Regions from separate parts of the Homo sapiens genome. Here region 2 is linked to region 1. The links are contacts of gene promoters, found by promoter capture Hi-C in human tissues and cell types (Jung and others, 2019). All regions are on one chromosome and are shown on one strand. The core of a region is centred on a gene start or on the middle of the fragment in contact, and the rest is flanking DNA. Distances in the headings are between cores, read along the strand shown.

Region 1 (7,820 bases), core at 3,184-5,683:
ACACTGCACTCCAGCCTGGATGACAGAGCAAGATCCTGCCTCTTTTTTTTTTTTTTTTTTTGATACAGCGTCTCACTTTGTCGCCCAGACTGGAGTGCAGTGGCACGATCTTGGCTCACTACAACCTCTGCCTCCTGGGTTCAAGCAATTCTCCTGCCTCAGCCTCCCGAGTAGCTGGGATTACAGGCATGTGCCACCATGCCCAGCTAATTTTTGTATTTTTAGTAGAGACAGGGTTTCACCATGTTGGCCAGGCTGGTCTGGAACTCCCGACTTCAAGTGATCCACCTGCCTCGGCTCCCAAAGTGCGGGGATTACAGGCATGACCCACCGTGCCCAGCCAAAACCCTGCCTCCAAAAGAAAAGAAAAAGAAAAACAAAGTCACCTCCTCGGAAAATATTCACTGACTAACATATCTAAAGTAGCCCCACTACAGTTATTTTTTATCCCACTTGTTTTACTTTCTTCCTAACATTTTCTGAATGGATCTACCTAAATGTCCAATGTAGTTTAAAACATATTTGAATCTAATGGTTAGAATTCTGTTAGTTAATAATTTCTTTTGGAAAGAAACACTGTATCTTTCCTGTGGCTGCCCTCTCCCTCTGAGTGAGTATCTAAAATAACGTCTGCATTTATGAGGCATTATGACTTTGGGGAAGCCTGAGACCTTGAATCTATTCGGAGTCCCTGACCTCTCAGGATGCTCTACAGCCTGTTGTTAAGAGAGTGGAATGTTTTGTAGCCTGGCCTCGCTAAGTTTGCTCAGAGCCTGAAGGCAAACCACACAGCTCTTCCTGAGGTCTGGCTGTTACTACTTTTTGTTCCTGGCCCAGTGTAATTTACAGAGCTACTTCCTCCTATACTTGCCAGCCAGCATTCTTGGCTACTTTCCGTATTCTTCTACAGGGTATGTGGGAACTTCTGGATATCTTCTCTCGCAGGAGCTAAGGACCACTCACTTGCAGAGCTCCGCCCAAAACCCTGTACCTAATTTTGTGTATGTAATTCTGTGTTCTTTTTCTTAAAAACAAAACAAAACAAACAAACAAAAAAACCCTCCCTCTCCCCCCATCATGTAAGCTTCAAGATCTGTAAAACCTGGATTCATCTCTGGCTGAGAGACACTCTGAGGAGCTAAATGCAGACCTGCTCTTTTTTCCCAACTACATCAGGGCATGACTTTTGCTCATATGTGGCTGTCTGCTTGTTGGTATGGGCATAGTCTGCAAGTCATCTCTACTTGGAATCTTAAACAGGAGCAGAGTAAGAATCCTCTCTGCCTTGAAGAGCTGGAATGGGAAGACAGGAGCACATGTCTCTCAATGATGCCTCTCTTACTTTTCTCTTTGTTCTTCTTCTCTCTACCCTTTTATTAAAAGAGTCAGACTTTTCTTTTATTTCCCTATATGCAGCCTCATGGCTTAGCTGTCCTGGATGGAAGGATATTTGGGTGGAAGGCATTTCCTGTGGAGTATGTAAAAACTCTATGAAATTATTATGTGCTGAGCTTCATAGATTAAATGGAACTAAGAAAATTTAGCAAATTCTTTTTCTCTCCATTCTGTTCTCTCCTGATTGGGAAAATAAGTCTCAAGGCTACATTTCAAGCAAGAGTCTATGACAGAAGATGACTTAAGAAAGTTAAAAGAAATCTGTTTGATATTTGCAAGATACTAGCCCCATTATAGTCTAGTTTTTTTTTTTTTTTTTTTTTGAAACAAGTCAGAGCACTGAACTTGTAGGTGAAATATCCCATTTAAAATGTTGATATATGATTTAACTTTTTTTTTTTAAAAAAAAGATAATGGCCGGGCGCGGTGGCTCACGCCTGTAATCCCAGCACTTTGGGAGGCCGAGGCAGGCGGATCACAAGGTCAGGGGATCAAGACCCTCCTGGCTAACACAGTGAAACCCAGTCTGTACTAAAAATACAAAAAGTTAGCCGGGCATGGTGGCGGGTGCCTGTAGTTCCAGCTACTCGGGAGGCTGAGGCAGAAGAATGGTGTGAACCCGGGAGGCGGAGCTTGCAGTGAGCCCAGATCGCGCCACTGCACTCTAGCTCGATGACAGAGTGAGACTCTGTCTCAAAAAATAATAATAATAATAATAATGATACTCATATGGTATTAGGAACCAACAGTGTTCTAGGAGATTTAGAGATGTTAACTAATTTAATCCTCTTGGTGTCCCATTTTACAGATAAGGAAAGTGAGGCACAGGACAATTACCTTGACCAAGATCATATAGCTATACACAATACAAATCAAATGCATTTCTGTGGGACAGATTTGGTCACAAGGCCACCAATTTACAATGTCTACTTTACGATATTTCAAATAAGTCAGAAAGAACAAGGCTTTGAATTCTGACTTGGCCTCTGTGCTGAATGATCTTGGACTAGTCACTTAAGCTCTGTGAATCCTTCTATAAAATTATGATTAACTTTTCAGTGCTCACTAAATGGTTTTCTCTTGTCTTATTCCTCCATATGGATGACTGCCCTGAACATTCATGTTATGCTTGTATATTATCTGAAATGCACAAATCCCACCTATTATTCGAGACCTAACACATTGCTAATACCTCCAGAAACAGTCTGTGTAGGACAGAGCCCTGAGGATCAAGATGTCTGTTTCAGTCTTGATACTGTTACTAATCCTGTGTGTGATCTCAAGCAAATCATATCTTCTCTAAGCCTCAGAGGCTTCATCTTGAAAATGTGGAGTTAGACTAAACTAATAAGTTTAAACTGTGATCTGAGAAACTCAACATTTCTGTAATGATGGGAGGGGGCATGAAAGGAGAGAGAGTGCAAGGGTGAAGCTGGGTGAATAGACTAGTGGGTTCCCCACTTACACTCCCAACTTAGCAGCTCCACATTTTAAACCACCAGATTTTATTAGAAGGGAGTATTCCACTGCCAATAAAACAGGTGGAAACCACTACAAGTTTTATGTAGCCACATTCCCTGGAATTATCTTTTCTTGGCTCCTCTTTTCTTTCTTGTCCTGGACATGGAACTAAAGGGAACATGTTTTTAAAATTCTGGCTGAAATGAACATATTTCTTTGTCCTTCTTTCTTCTCTCCTACCGAGGAGTGAAATTAAAGACAGTGCTAAAGGCATAAGCAAGGCCAGTATGGAAACTTCCAGCAATTTCACCAAAAGTTTTCAGCAAAATATTACAGATTAGAAAACATCTGTTTCAGAATAGCTACCAAGTGCTAAATAAAACAGAAAACAGAAGTTACATCTCATTATCCTGTGACTTCAGGAGTTATCATTCCCACTTGAATATGTCTTGTCATGGGAAATGACCTTCAGGAGGCATCTTCTTTGTATTTCTTACTATATGTCTCCCCACTGTCCCTGAACTATCATTATAAACTTAATTTTTTCTGCACCCAAAGCTTGTGGGAACTAGAATGAACAGAAGAGGAATGAATGAAGCCCTCATTCTTTTCAGCGATTTTCAGCTTAGGACCCAGTTTTGGAACAAGATAGACCCAAATCTACTTCCTGGTTTCCTGCTTAGAAATAAGATGCTTATCCTTTAAGGCAGATTGTCAAGCTCCTTCAATAGAGGTGAATGAGGACACCCATCATCTGCAAATCATTACATCTTCACAAGAGAATTATGATATTCTCCAAATACCATGAAACTTCAATTTTTAATCTTCTAGGGATATCAAATTAAACCAAATTTATCTCTCGCCTGAAGACAGCCTGGAGGACTGAGACTGTAATCTTGATTCCAACTCCACACCAGCCATTAGTTACATTGGGACAAATTCCTTCCCATGATCAGGCTGCAATTTTATCATTGGGAGCACTGGAGTAAATGGTTCCCTAAGATCCTTCTCCATTTTGATGTTCTAAGGATAAATTACTATTGAAGAAATTATTTCCAGTTGTTGGTTCAATCTTCAAAATCACCAAAAGCTTTGATTTTAAGGTGAGGTTATAGGAGTTGGCTCTTGATATTCTATGCCTTGTGCTTCAGAACAGGCAGTCGAAAGGGAGGAAAGTTGGTTTTCCTTGAGATGACTGTCTTGTTCCCTCATTGGTTTGGGATTCTTCATGTTCAGAGGTCCACTGAGAACTTCAGCTTACCATGACTTTCCCTCTTCAATGGTACCACTGTAGTCAGGTGTAAGATGGTGATGTGGAACCCTTCACTGACATTGCACCCAATTCTCCAGATTGTCTTTCCAGTAATTTCTTTCATTTCTCCTTCATCCCTGCGTCATGGTCCCTTTAAGGGAGCGGCCATAGTTGAGTGGTGGGAGCAGCTGCTGGCAGCAAAGAGACTTGCAGGATTTGGCCTACCCATGGCCACTTACCGCGCACGCTCAGGACCGGGGGCTTGGTGGGAAAGGAAGGAGGGACTTAGGGTGCGCCTGCGCATCAGGGGCGCGCGCAAGGGGCTGATTTGGTGATCCCTTTAAGAAACCGCAGGCGGAGGAATTTCTCTGAGAGAAAATAATCCTACTCACGGGGCCCCTTGGAGGCCATTAACCCCCCGAGTCCCGGCCCCCACCCCGTCCCCGGGCAGGCCCTCCCGCCCACGCGCGGACCCGTGGGATCTCAGAAGCTGCGGCCCGGCGCGCGGCATCCGCCCCCTCCCCACTCTCGGCGCAAGGCCCGGCCGGGTCCGGGGAAGCTGCCGCGAGGCGGCCGTGCCTGCAGTGTGGGCGGGGGCCGGGGGGCCGAGAGGTACCGCCGCCACCGCGCGGGGAGCCGCAGCGGTTCCGAGCGGGGCCCAACATGGCGGAGAGAGAGGTGGAGTCCGGCCCCCGAAAGAGGGTAGGTGAGGTGAGGCAGAACTCGGGCGGCGGGGGGCGGGGCGCGGCCCGGGGCCGGGAATGGGCCATACTCAGGTTCGTGGAGGGGTCGCCGAGGCCCAGTTAGGACAAGGTTGCGGGCAGGTCTGAGGCAGCCTTGGGTCCGGAGCGCGCTGGCGAGCGGTCCCTCGGCAGGTGGGACAAAGATTTGGTGCTGGGTGGGGGGGAGGGGAGGGGGCCGTTGTTTGCCTTCCTCCCCCCGACGTTCCCCAGCACTGGGGTGGGATATCTAGGCCCAGGGAGGGGAGGTGTCAGATTCTTAAGTGCATCTTTAGTGCATCTTTAGTACATCAGAGTCTGGAAGTTAACTGGGGAGAGGTCAGGTGGGGGTGGTGGTGGCGGGAATAAGTCGTGGAGGGGTCTCAGGAGAAATAACCGGAGGGTTCTTCAGTAACACCATCGCGAATTCATTTTCCTGCCTCCTTTCCCCTCCCCCCATAGCCGTTATCTAGACCAAAGTCGGGGTGGTGGTCTTACCTGTGAAGAAGTGGGATCGTTGGCATGTCCTGATTTAGGAGAAAGATTTTGGCTACTATGAATGTCATGTTCTAGCCTAGCCTCTTACTCGCAATTAGGGACTTGGAAGAATACGACAAGTTTTCTCATAACAGGGATGTACCCAATCAACCTGCAGAGGTGAAGCCAATTCTACATAGGAGTTGTTTGAATACCTTTTAAAGTTTGTCTGGAAACTTTCCTTATTTAATTCTGAGTGGTTTTTTTCAGATGGCGAACAATACTGTACTATCGATTGAGCAATATCCCTCACTTTTCTTTTACTTCCTCCCCGCTTAGCATGATAAGAAGTAAGTTTCCTTTTAGGAGTCTTCCTTTTGGGAATGGTTTCAGAAACGATCAATTAGCAAAAGGGCAAAAAATTACTACTTTATGAAGAATGCCCTTTCAGCTTAGCGTAAAATTAGTAATCTCGTAATGATGCTACAGCTGATGTTTTGAGTGCTTACTGTGTGCCTGGCACTGAGCTAAGACCTTTATGTGAAGAATTTAACTTCATAGTAACTCCTCCTAGAACCTATTTGCAGATGAGGAAATTTAGGTGTTGAGGGCTTAAGTAATTTACTTAGATCACACAGCTAGTTGCAAGGTTGAGGTAGGATTTGAATCCAGGTTTGTCCCAACTATAGTGCCTGTGTGGGATGCCACAGAGGAGTTTCTTTAATCTGTGTTTCTCTCCTTAAAAGCTTAAATTGTAAATGACCAAAGAAGTGTCAAGTATTATTTTTTCCAACAATTTATTAGGAAAATATTTTGAACTATCCGTCAATATTATAAAACTTACGGGGAGCAGTCATACACCCAACCGCCTAGATCCTACTGTTAACATTGCATTCCGGACATGCACAGCGGCTCACGCCTGTAATCCCAGCACTTTGGGAGGCCGAGGCGGCAGGATCACTTGAGGCCAGGAGTTCGAGACCAGCCTGGCCAACATGGTGAAACCCCGTCTCTACTAAAAATACAAAAAATTAACCCGGCGTGGTGGCGGGTGCCTGTAATCCCAGCTATTCGGGAGGCTGAGGCAGGGGAATCGCTTGAACCTGGGAGGCGGTGGTAGCAGGGAGGCGGTGGTAGCAGTGAGCCGAGATCGTGCTACTGCACTCTAGCCTAGGTGACAGAGGGAGGCACTGTCTCAAAACCCCCTCCAAAAAAAAAATTGCATTCCACTTGTTTTATCATATATTTACCCCTCTATCCCTCTTTCTGTTCATCAGTCGTGTTATTTTAATGCATTTCATCGTAGTGTTTTGAACAATAAATTTTTACCATTGATAAGTTTACGAAATGTTGGATTCACCTAATGCAATAATTAGTCATAGAGCAAGTTAAGCTGTATGATGGTATGTCCAAATAGTTTTGTAAGTATAAATGTTGTGTATGGAATGCATGTGTTTTGAAATTTTAAAATTTTCAAGTTGTGTTCAGTTTTGAACTAGATCCTTACTGTGCTTGGATGAAGGCATATGGCATATAGTCCACCAATGAAAATATACAGGGTAAATTACTTAAGATATGTAATGTTAATTCAGGGAGATTTCTGCATCCAGTTGCTGTGAATGTTGTCATTCACCTTCTGTACTAGGATGTTCTAGGATATTCTAGAAAACATTGATGTGTGTTGACAACAAATTCAACTAGATTTTAAATATATTCTGCCTCTTGTCGTACACTTAAAAGATGTTACTGGTCTTGTGAATCTTCTGCTAAAGGAATGCTGGAAAAAAAAAAAAAGATACCATACTGGTAGCAGTAAAAACTTTATTATTATTATTATTTTTGAGACAGAGTCTTGCTCTGTTGCCCAGGCTAGAGTGCGGTGGCGCAATCTCGGCTCGTTGCAACCTCCGCCTCCCGGGTTCAATTAATTCTCCTGCTTCAGCCTCCCAAGTAGCTGGGATTACAGGCAAGCACCACCATGCCTGGCTAATTTTTGTATTTTTAGTAAAGATGGGATTTTGCCATGTTGGCCAGGCTGATCTCGAACTCCTGACCTCTGGTGATCAGCACACCTCGGCTTCCCAAAGTGCTGGGATTACAGGTGTGAGCTACCGGGCCTGGCCCAAAAGTTAATTTTATTTTTAACAACCTATAACATACGCAGGACTTGTATAGGTTTCCCCCATTATTTTGCCAGTTTCATCACAGAGGAAAATTACATTCATTGATTTTTGGAATTAATGGTGTGGTGGCACATGCTTCTAGTCCTCGCTATTCAGAGGTTGAGGTGGGAGCATTGCTTGAGCCCAGGAGTTGGAGGTTGCAGTGAGCTATGATATTGCCACTGCTCTCCAGCCTGGGTGACAGAGGGAAACCCCCTCTCTAGAAAAAGTAAAAATAATACATAAATAATATTTTTTGATCCATAATTCATTTTGTTTTTGATATTTCATTAGAATGTTCGGTATGATTGTCTTAAATGATATAAGTACTTTTTTCCACTTTTTTTTGGTGTG
Region 2 (7,445 bases), core at 2,929-5,428, 210 kb after region 1:
GAAACAATCAACAAAGTGAAGAGACAACCCACAGAATGGGAGAAAATATCTGCAAACTCCCCATTTGACAAGGGATTAATAACCAGAATATATAAAGAGTTCAAACAACTCCACAGGAAAAAATTTAATAATCCCATTTAAAAATGGGCAAAATATTTGAACAGGGATTTCTCAAAAGAAGACCTACAAATGGCAAACAGGCATATGAAAAGGTTCTCGACATCACTGATCATCAGAGAAATGCAAATAAAAACTACAATGAGATGGCCGGGCGCGGTGGCTCACGCCTGTAATCCCAGCACTTTGGGAGGCCAAGGCGGACGGATCACAAGGTCAGGAGATCGAGACCATCCTGGCTAACACGGTGAAACCGCATCTCTACTAAAAATACAAAAAATTAGCTGGGCGTGGTGGTGGGCGCCTGTAGTCCCAGCTACTCGGGAGGCTGAGGCAGGAGAATGGCATGAACCCAGGAGGCGCAGCTTGCAGTGAGCCGAGATTGCGCCACTGCACTCCAGCCTGGGCAACAGAGTGAGACTCTGTCTCAAAAAAAAAAAAAAAAAAAAAACCTACAGTGAGATATCATCTCACCCCAGTTAAAATGGTTTTTATACAAAAGACAGGCAATAACAAATGCTGGTGAGGATGTGGAGAAAAGGGGAACCCTCGTACACTATTGGTGGGAATGTAAATTAGTACAACCACTATGGAGAACAGTTTGGAGGTTCCTCAAAAAAATAAAAATAGAGTTACCATGTGACTCAATAATCCCACTGCTGGGTCTATACCCAAAAGAAAGGAAATCAGTGTATCGAAGAGGTATCTGCACTCCCATGTTTGCAGCACTGTTCACAACAGCCAAACTTTGGAAGCAACCTAAGTGTCCATCAACAGATGAATGAATAAAGAAAATGTGGTGCTTATATACAATGGAGTACTACTCAGCCATAAAAAAGAATGAAATTTTGTCATTTCCAACAACATGGATGGAACTGGAGGTCATTATGTTAGGTGAATAAGCCAGGCACAGACAAACACTGCTTGTTCTCACTTATTTGTGGAATCTAAAAATCAAAACAACTGAACTCATGGAGATAGAGAGTAATGGTTAGATAGATGGATGGTTACCAGAGGCTGCGAAGGGTAGTGTGGGGGTAAGAGGGAGGGGGGGATGGTTAATGAGTACAAAAAAAAAAGCTAGAAAGAACAAATAAGACCTAGTATTTGATAGCACAACAGGGTGACTATAGTCAATAATATTTTAATTGCACATTTTAAAATAACTAAAATAATATAACTGGATTGTTTGTAACACAAAGGATAAAGGCTTGAAGGGATGGATACTCTATTTTACATGATGTGATTATTACACATTGCATGTCTGCATCAAAGTATCTCATGTATGCCATAAATGTATACAACTACTATATATCCACAAAAATTAAAAGTTTTAAAAATAAATAAAAATTAAAATAAAGATGCTATAAAAATGAGAGACCTACAACCAGACTTTCAGAAGGTAAGCAAATACACTGATCCAAATCTTTCTTCCCAGTAGGCTCTGATTGATCACTTGAACATTATACTTAATTGAATCATGTGCCTTTAAGTCACAGTGGAATCTGGATCTGTGAAAATTAGCCTCGTAAATTTCCATAAGCTGGAGGCCTGCTGAGGAAAGGCTCTAGAGCCCCCAGTCCATGACTGCAGGGGCAATGACAGAGTTATTTTTTCTCTAACACACAGTATTCAAGTTATGCCTCCCTTCCTTCTTTCCTCTAAAAGGGAATACTTTGATCAAATGTTCTACTTTTTCCTTCTATCTCCAAGAGCAAAGGTCCTTACCTGGGTATGGTGCTGAGGTGCTCTGGAAAGAGGCCTGGGGGGTAGGGGTAGCATAACTGTAGGAGGGAGCCACTGGCTGGGGGACAGCAATCTGGGTTTTCTCAGAACTTTTTACTTGTTGAGTGCTGGGCGTAGTAGCAAGACCCTCTGATATTTCAGGTTGCACTGATACATTCTTTGGCCCACCAGACAGCTCTGCAGTCAGGTCTGTGGTTAGGGGACTGGAAATTGTAATCGCCTTGTGGACCTAAAGAAATAAAAAAACTAATTTGAGTAGGTAAAAGTTACATAATTTTTCAGGTTATGTCTCATGAAACAATAGTCTATTAAATGTTCTCTTGAAAAATGCAAAAATATCAAAAATATTAAAGAAACTAATCTCACCACCCAAATAAAAGTGGTGTTAAATGTTGAGATAAATCTTGAGTTTTTTTCCTAGCCAAAATGTTTTGTTTAAAACAAAATAGTAATTTTCTGCATTCTAAGTGTGCTGGAAAAGCAAAACAATGTATACTTTTACCCTGTTAACATTTCTATTCAATCTTTCTACAAATACTTATTGAGCACCTATTACAAAATAGCCCTTGTGGATCCAAAATATAAATAAAACTAATCGTTGAGCACTGAAAGCATAATAAGCCAAAATAGTAAATATACCAGCTAAGCATGGTGGCTCACGCCTGTACTCCCAACACTTTGGGAGGCCAAGACAGGAGACCACTTGAACCTAGGAGTTCAAGACCAGCCTTGACAATATGGCGAGACCCTGTCTCTACAAAACATAAAAAATTAGCTGGGCATGGTGGCCATGCCTGTGGTCCCAGCTACTTGGGAGGCTGAGGTGGGAGAATCGCTTGAGCCTGGGAGGTCAAGGCCGCAGTGAACTGTGATCATGCCACTGTACTCTAGCTTGGGTGACAGAATGAGACCTTGTCTCAAAAAGAAAAAAAAAAAGTAAATATACCAATGTTTATGATGAGCCAAAAAAAAAAAAAAAAAAAAAAAAACACAAGCTAAAGTTACTTAATCCATCTCCCTTTGAGGGAGAAAGAGTATGGAAAAGAATGATTTTTTTATTATTATTATTAAAGAAAAAGGCTTCCTGAAGGAGAAGAGCCCTAAGCTGAGTTTTAGAGGATAAACAGTTGTTTACTAGACAAAAGGCAGAGGGCAGAGAATGAATGTAGGCACAAAAAATGAAATTAACATGGTCTGTATTGGGAACTGACAGCCATAAGCAAAGTGAGAGGCAAAAGTAATAGAAGATGAGCTGGAAAGATAGAGGCAAAGACCAGATGGAAAAAAGCATTACATGTTATTTTAAGAAACTAAGTAATGGTAAGCAATTTAAGGGTTGTATGCAAGGAAGTAACAAGGTCGAGTTTCTGTCTTACAAGTCATTTCTTAGCGTATGGGTTTGAAGAAGTAAGGCAATAGCAGGAATATCACTTAGAAGAGTACTGCTTTCATCCAAATGAGAAATAATGAGTAGCGAAACAAGGGTGGTGGTATGGATTTTTTAAAAATCAAATTCGGCCGGGTGTGGTGTCTCACACCTGTAATCCCAGCACTTTGGGAGGCCAAGACAGGTGGAACATTTGAGGTAAGGAGTTTGAGACCAGCCTGACCAACATGGTGAAACCCCATCTCTACTAAAAATACAAAATTTAGCTGGGCATGGTGGTACACGCCTGTAGTCCCAGCTACTCAGGAGGCTGAGGCACAAGAATCACTTGAACCCGAGAGGAGGCGGAGGCTGCAGTGAGCCGATATCATGCCACTGTACCTCAGCCTGGGCGACAGAGTGAAACTCTTGTCTCAAAAAAAAAAAATCAAATTGGTTGAAATATAATTCACATAAACTACACACATTTCAAGTATATAAGGTCAAAGTTTTGATAAATATATATACCCATGTAACCACAATTAAGAGAGAGAACATTTCTATCAGCCCCCAAAATTCATTCATGCCCCTTTATAATAAATCCCTGTCTCCATCTCTAGGCTCAGGAAACCACTGATTTGTTTGCTATCAAAGTGAGATTAGTTTGGGTTTTCTTGTATTTCATATAAAAGGAAGCATATACATACTATTTTTGTTTCTGGCTTTCACTCAACACGTTTTTGAAATTTATTCATGATATTGTGCATATCAGTAGTACATTCTTTTTTATTACTGAGTAGTTTTCCATTATAGAAATACACAAAAATTTGGTTTACATTTATCTACTGATGGAATTTTAAGTTGTTTTCCGTTCTTAGTTATAAAAACTGCTATGAATGTTTAAGTATACATGTTTCTGTAAACACGTGTTCTAATTTATCTTAGGTAGTTACTTAGGAGAATTGCTGGTTATACATAAGTATATGTTTAACTTTGTAAGAAACTATGAACTGTTACCCAAAGTGGCTGTACATTTTATATTTCTACCAGCAACATACGAGAGTTCCAGTTGCTCTACAACTTCACCAACACTTGGTATTCCTGGTCTTTTTATTTTTTGTCATTCTAGTGGTTATAAAGTAATATATCACTGATGACTTTCCTGATGACTAATAATATTGAGCATATTTTCCTGTGCTTATTGACCATTTTTTCTTTGAAGAGGCAAAGAGGTAAAGTTTATCCAAATTTTTACCCCCCCTTTTTAAAGCTTTATTAAGGTATAATTGACATACAATAAATTGAACATACATAAAATGTACAATTTGATAAATTTTTATGTATGTATACACATTTGAAACCACCAGTACAATCAAGCTAATGCATATCCATCACTTCCAAAGATTCCTCATGCTCCTTTGTAATGCCTTCTCCTCCCCACCCTAAGCAACCATTCTGCTGTTTCTTTTTTTTTTTTTTTTTTTTTTTTTTTTGAGATGGAGTCTTGCTCTGTCGCCCAGGCTGGAGTGCAGTGGCGCGATCTCGGCTCACTGCAAGCTCCACCTCCCGGGTTCATGCCATTCTCCTGCCTCAGCCTCCTGAGTAGCTGGGACTACAGGCGCCCGCCACCATGCCCAGCTAATTTTTTGTATTTTTAGTAGTGATGGGGTTTCACCGTGTTAGCCAGGATGGTCTCAATCTCCTGACCTCGTGATCCACCTGCCTTGGCCTCCCAAAGTGCTGGGATTACAGGCGTGAGCCACCACGCCCGGCCTGCTTTCTGTTTCTATAGTTTGCATTTCCTAAAAGGTTCTATAAATGGAATCACAAAGTAAGTACCCTTTTTTTTGAGAGGGGCAGTCTGGCTTATTTCACTCAGAAAAATTATTTTGTATGAATAACAAAATACAAACAAAATGTTTTGTGTATCAATAATTCATTTCTTAGCATTGCTAAGTAGTTTTCTGCTTTATATTATATACTATAATTTGTTTATTCATTCACCTATAGATGAACGTTTGGGTTTATTCTAGCTTTTGGCTATTACAAATCAAGCTGTTATAACCACTCATCTACAGGTCTTTTTTTTTTTTTTTTGAGATGGAGTTTCGCTCTTGTTGCCCAGGCTGGAGTGCAATGGCGCAATCTCGGTTCACCACAACCTCCGCCTCCCAGGTTCAAGCGATTCTCCTGCCTCAGCCTCCCGAGTAGCTGGGATTACAGGCATGTGCCACCACGCCCAGCTAGTTTTGTATTTTTAGTAGAGACTGGGTTTCTCCATGTTGGTCAGGCTGGTCTTGAACTCCAGACCTCAAGCGATCCACCCACCTCGGCCTCCCAAAGTGCTGGGATTACAGGTGTAAGCCACTGCGCCCAGCCTCTACAAGTCTTTGTATGGACATGTCCTTTTATTTCTCTTAGGTAAATACTTATAAATAGAACCCCCGATCAATGTACCTTTAACTGTTTCAAGAAACTGCCAAACCATTTTCTGAAGTTGTTATGACATAATATAGTACCACCACCAGTGTATTTCAGTTATCATATAATCTTGACAGAATTTGGTGTGGAAATCTTTTTAATTTTAGCCATTCGAGGTATGTAGTGGTATCTCACTGTGGTTGTAATTTACATTTTCCTAGTGATTAGCGACATTGAACATCTTTTTATGTATTTATCGGACACCTGTATAACCTCTTTGGTGGACTATCTGTTCCAATCTTTTGCCTGCTTTTTAAAATGGGTTACTAGTTTTCTAATCAAGTTACAAGAGCTCATTTATTTCTATAAATGAGTCCTTTGTCAGACATATAATTTGCAAATGTTTTCTCAGTCTGTATCTTCCTTTTTCGTTTTGTTAGTGTTAGCTTTTCATTAACAAAAATTTGTAATTTTGATAAGCTCCAATTTATCATTTGTTTCTTTTACAGTTCATGCTTTCAGTGACATGGCTAAGAAATCTTTGCCAAAGCAAGATCACAAAAATGTTCTCCTGGGTTCTCTTCCATAAGTTTTATAGCTTTTACTCTTAAATTGAGATCTATGATCCGTTTTGAGTTGATTTTCCTCTAGAGGTAAGGGTCAAGGTTCATGTTTTTACATATCATTATCTAATTGTTCTAGCACCATTTGTTGAAAAGATTATCCCTTCCCCACTGAACTGCACTGGCACATCAATGGACCATATAGGTGTGGGTCTATTTCTGGACTCTATATTATGTTCCATTAACTTAATCTAGTTTTATACCAATACCACTGCCTTGATTACTGTGGCTATACAGTAAGTCTTCTAGCTAGATAGTTTAAGTCCTCCAACTCTATTGTTCTTTTTCAAAATCATTTTGATCATTCTAGATCCCAATCTGTATAACATGGTTATATTTGTTTCCTAGAGCTGCCATAATGAATTACTATAAACTTTGTGGCTTAAAACAATAGAAATTCATTCTCTCACAGTTCTGGAGGCCAGAAGTCTGAAATCAAGGTGTTGGCAGGGCCATACTGCCTCTGAAGGCCCTAGAGGAGAATCTTTCTTTGCCTCTTCTAGCTCCTGGAGGCTCTTAGCATTCCTTGGCTTGCGGCAACCTAACTCTACTCTTCACGTGGCCTTCTTCCGTGTCTGTGTAGATGGATCCAAAGCTCCCTTTCCTTTCTCTCGTATAAAGACACCAGTCATTATATTAAGGGCCCACCCTAAATACAGGATGATTTCACCTGGAGATTCTCAACTAATTACATCTGCCAAGACCCTATTCCCAAATAAGGTCACATGCTGAGGTTCCAGATGGACATGAATGCGGGGAGGGGAGGACATCATTACTTATTTCTCATATTCCTCTCAGCAGAGTTTTGTAGTTTTCAGTATACAGTTTTTGCACATATTTTGTTAAGTTTATGCCTAAGTGTTTCATGTCTTTGGGTGTTACACATTTTTTAAAACTTCAAGCTAGGTATGGTGGTGCACACCTGGAGTTCCAGCTACTTGAGAGGCTGAAGGAGGATTGCTTGAACCCAGAAGTTCAAGGCCAGCCTAGGCAACATAGTGGGACCCCTATCTCTAAAATAAATAAATAATAAAACTTCAATTCCCAATTATTCATTGCTAATATAGAAACACAAGTGATTTCTGTGTATTGCCCTTATATCCTGCAATCTTGCTAACTTTACTTAATAGTTCCAGTGGCTTTTATGCAGATTCTTTAGAATTTTCTAGAAA

What was found. The method cuts DNA at HindIII sites, captures the fragments that hold promoters and counts their contacts. A contact is called where the count stands out against the background at its distance.
Region 2: a contact is called between a fragment that was not itself captured here and the fragment with the promoter of ZMYM4 in region 1, in 1 of the 25 tissues and cell types used here (psoas muscle).

The regions. Positions count from the first base shown.
Region 1 is chr1:35,264,276-35,272,095 of GRCh38, forward strand. It overlaps ZMYM4 (zinc finger MYM-type containing 4), which reads left to right and starts at 4,434. Exons shown (of 30, transcript NM_005095.3): 1 at 4,434-4,810. The coding sequence starts at 4,772. RefSeq lists enhancers at 4,124-4,183, 4,204-4,263 and silencers at 4,394-4,753, 4,824-4,953. The HindIII fragment of the contact is 5,206 bases long and covers 3,681-7,820 here.
Region 2 is chr1:35,477,121-35,484,565 of GRCh38, forward strand. It overlaps KIAA0319L (KIAA0319 like), which reads right to left. Exons shown (of 21, transcript NM_024874.5): 4 at 1,846-2,092. Among named protein-coding and RNA genes, the nearest start is that of KIAA0319L, 77 kb to the right of the region's middle. The HindIII fragment of the contact is 4,433 bases long and covers 1,963-6,395 here.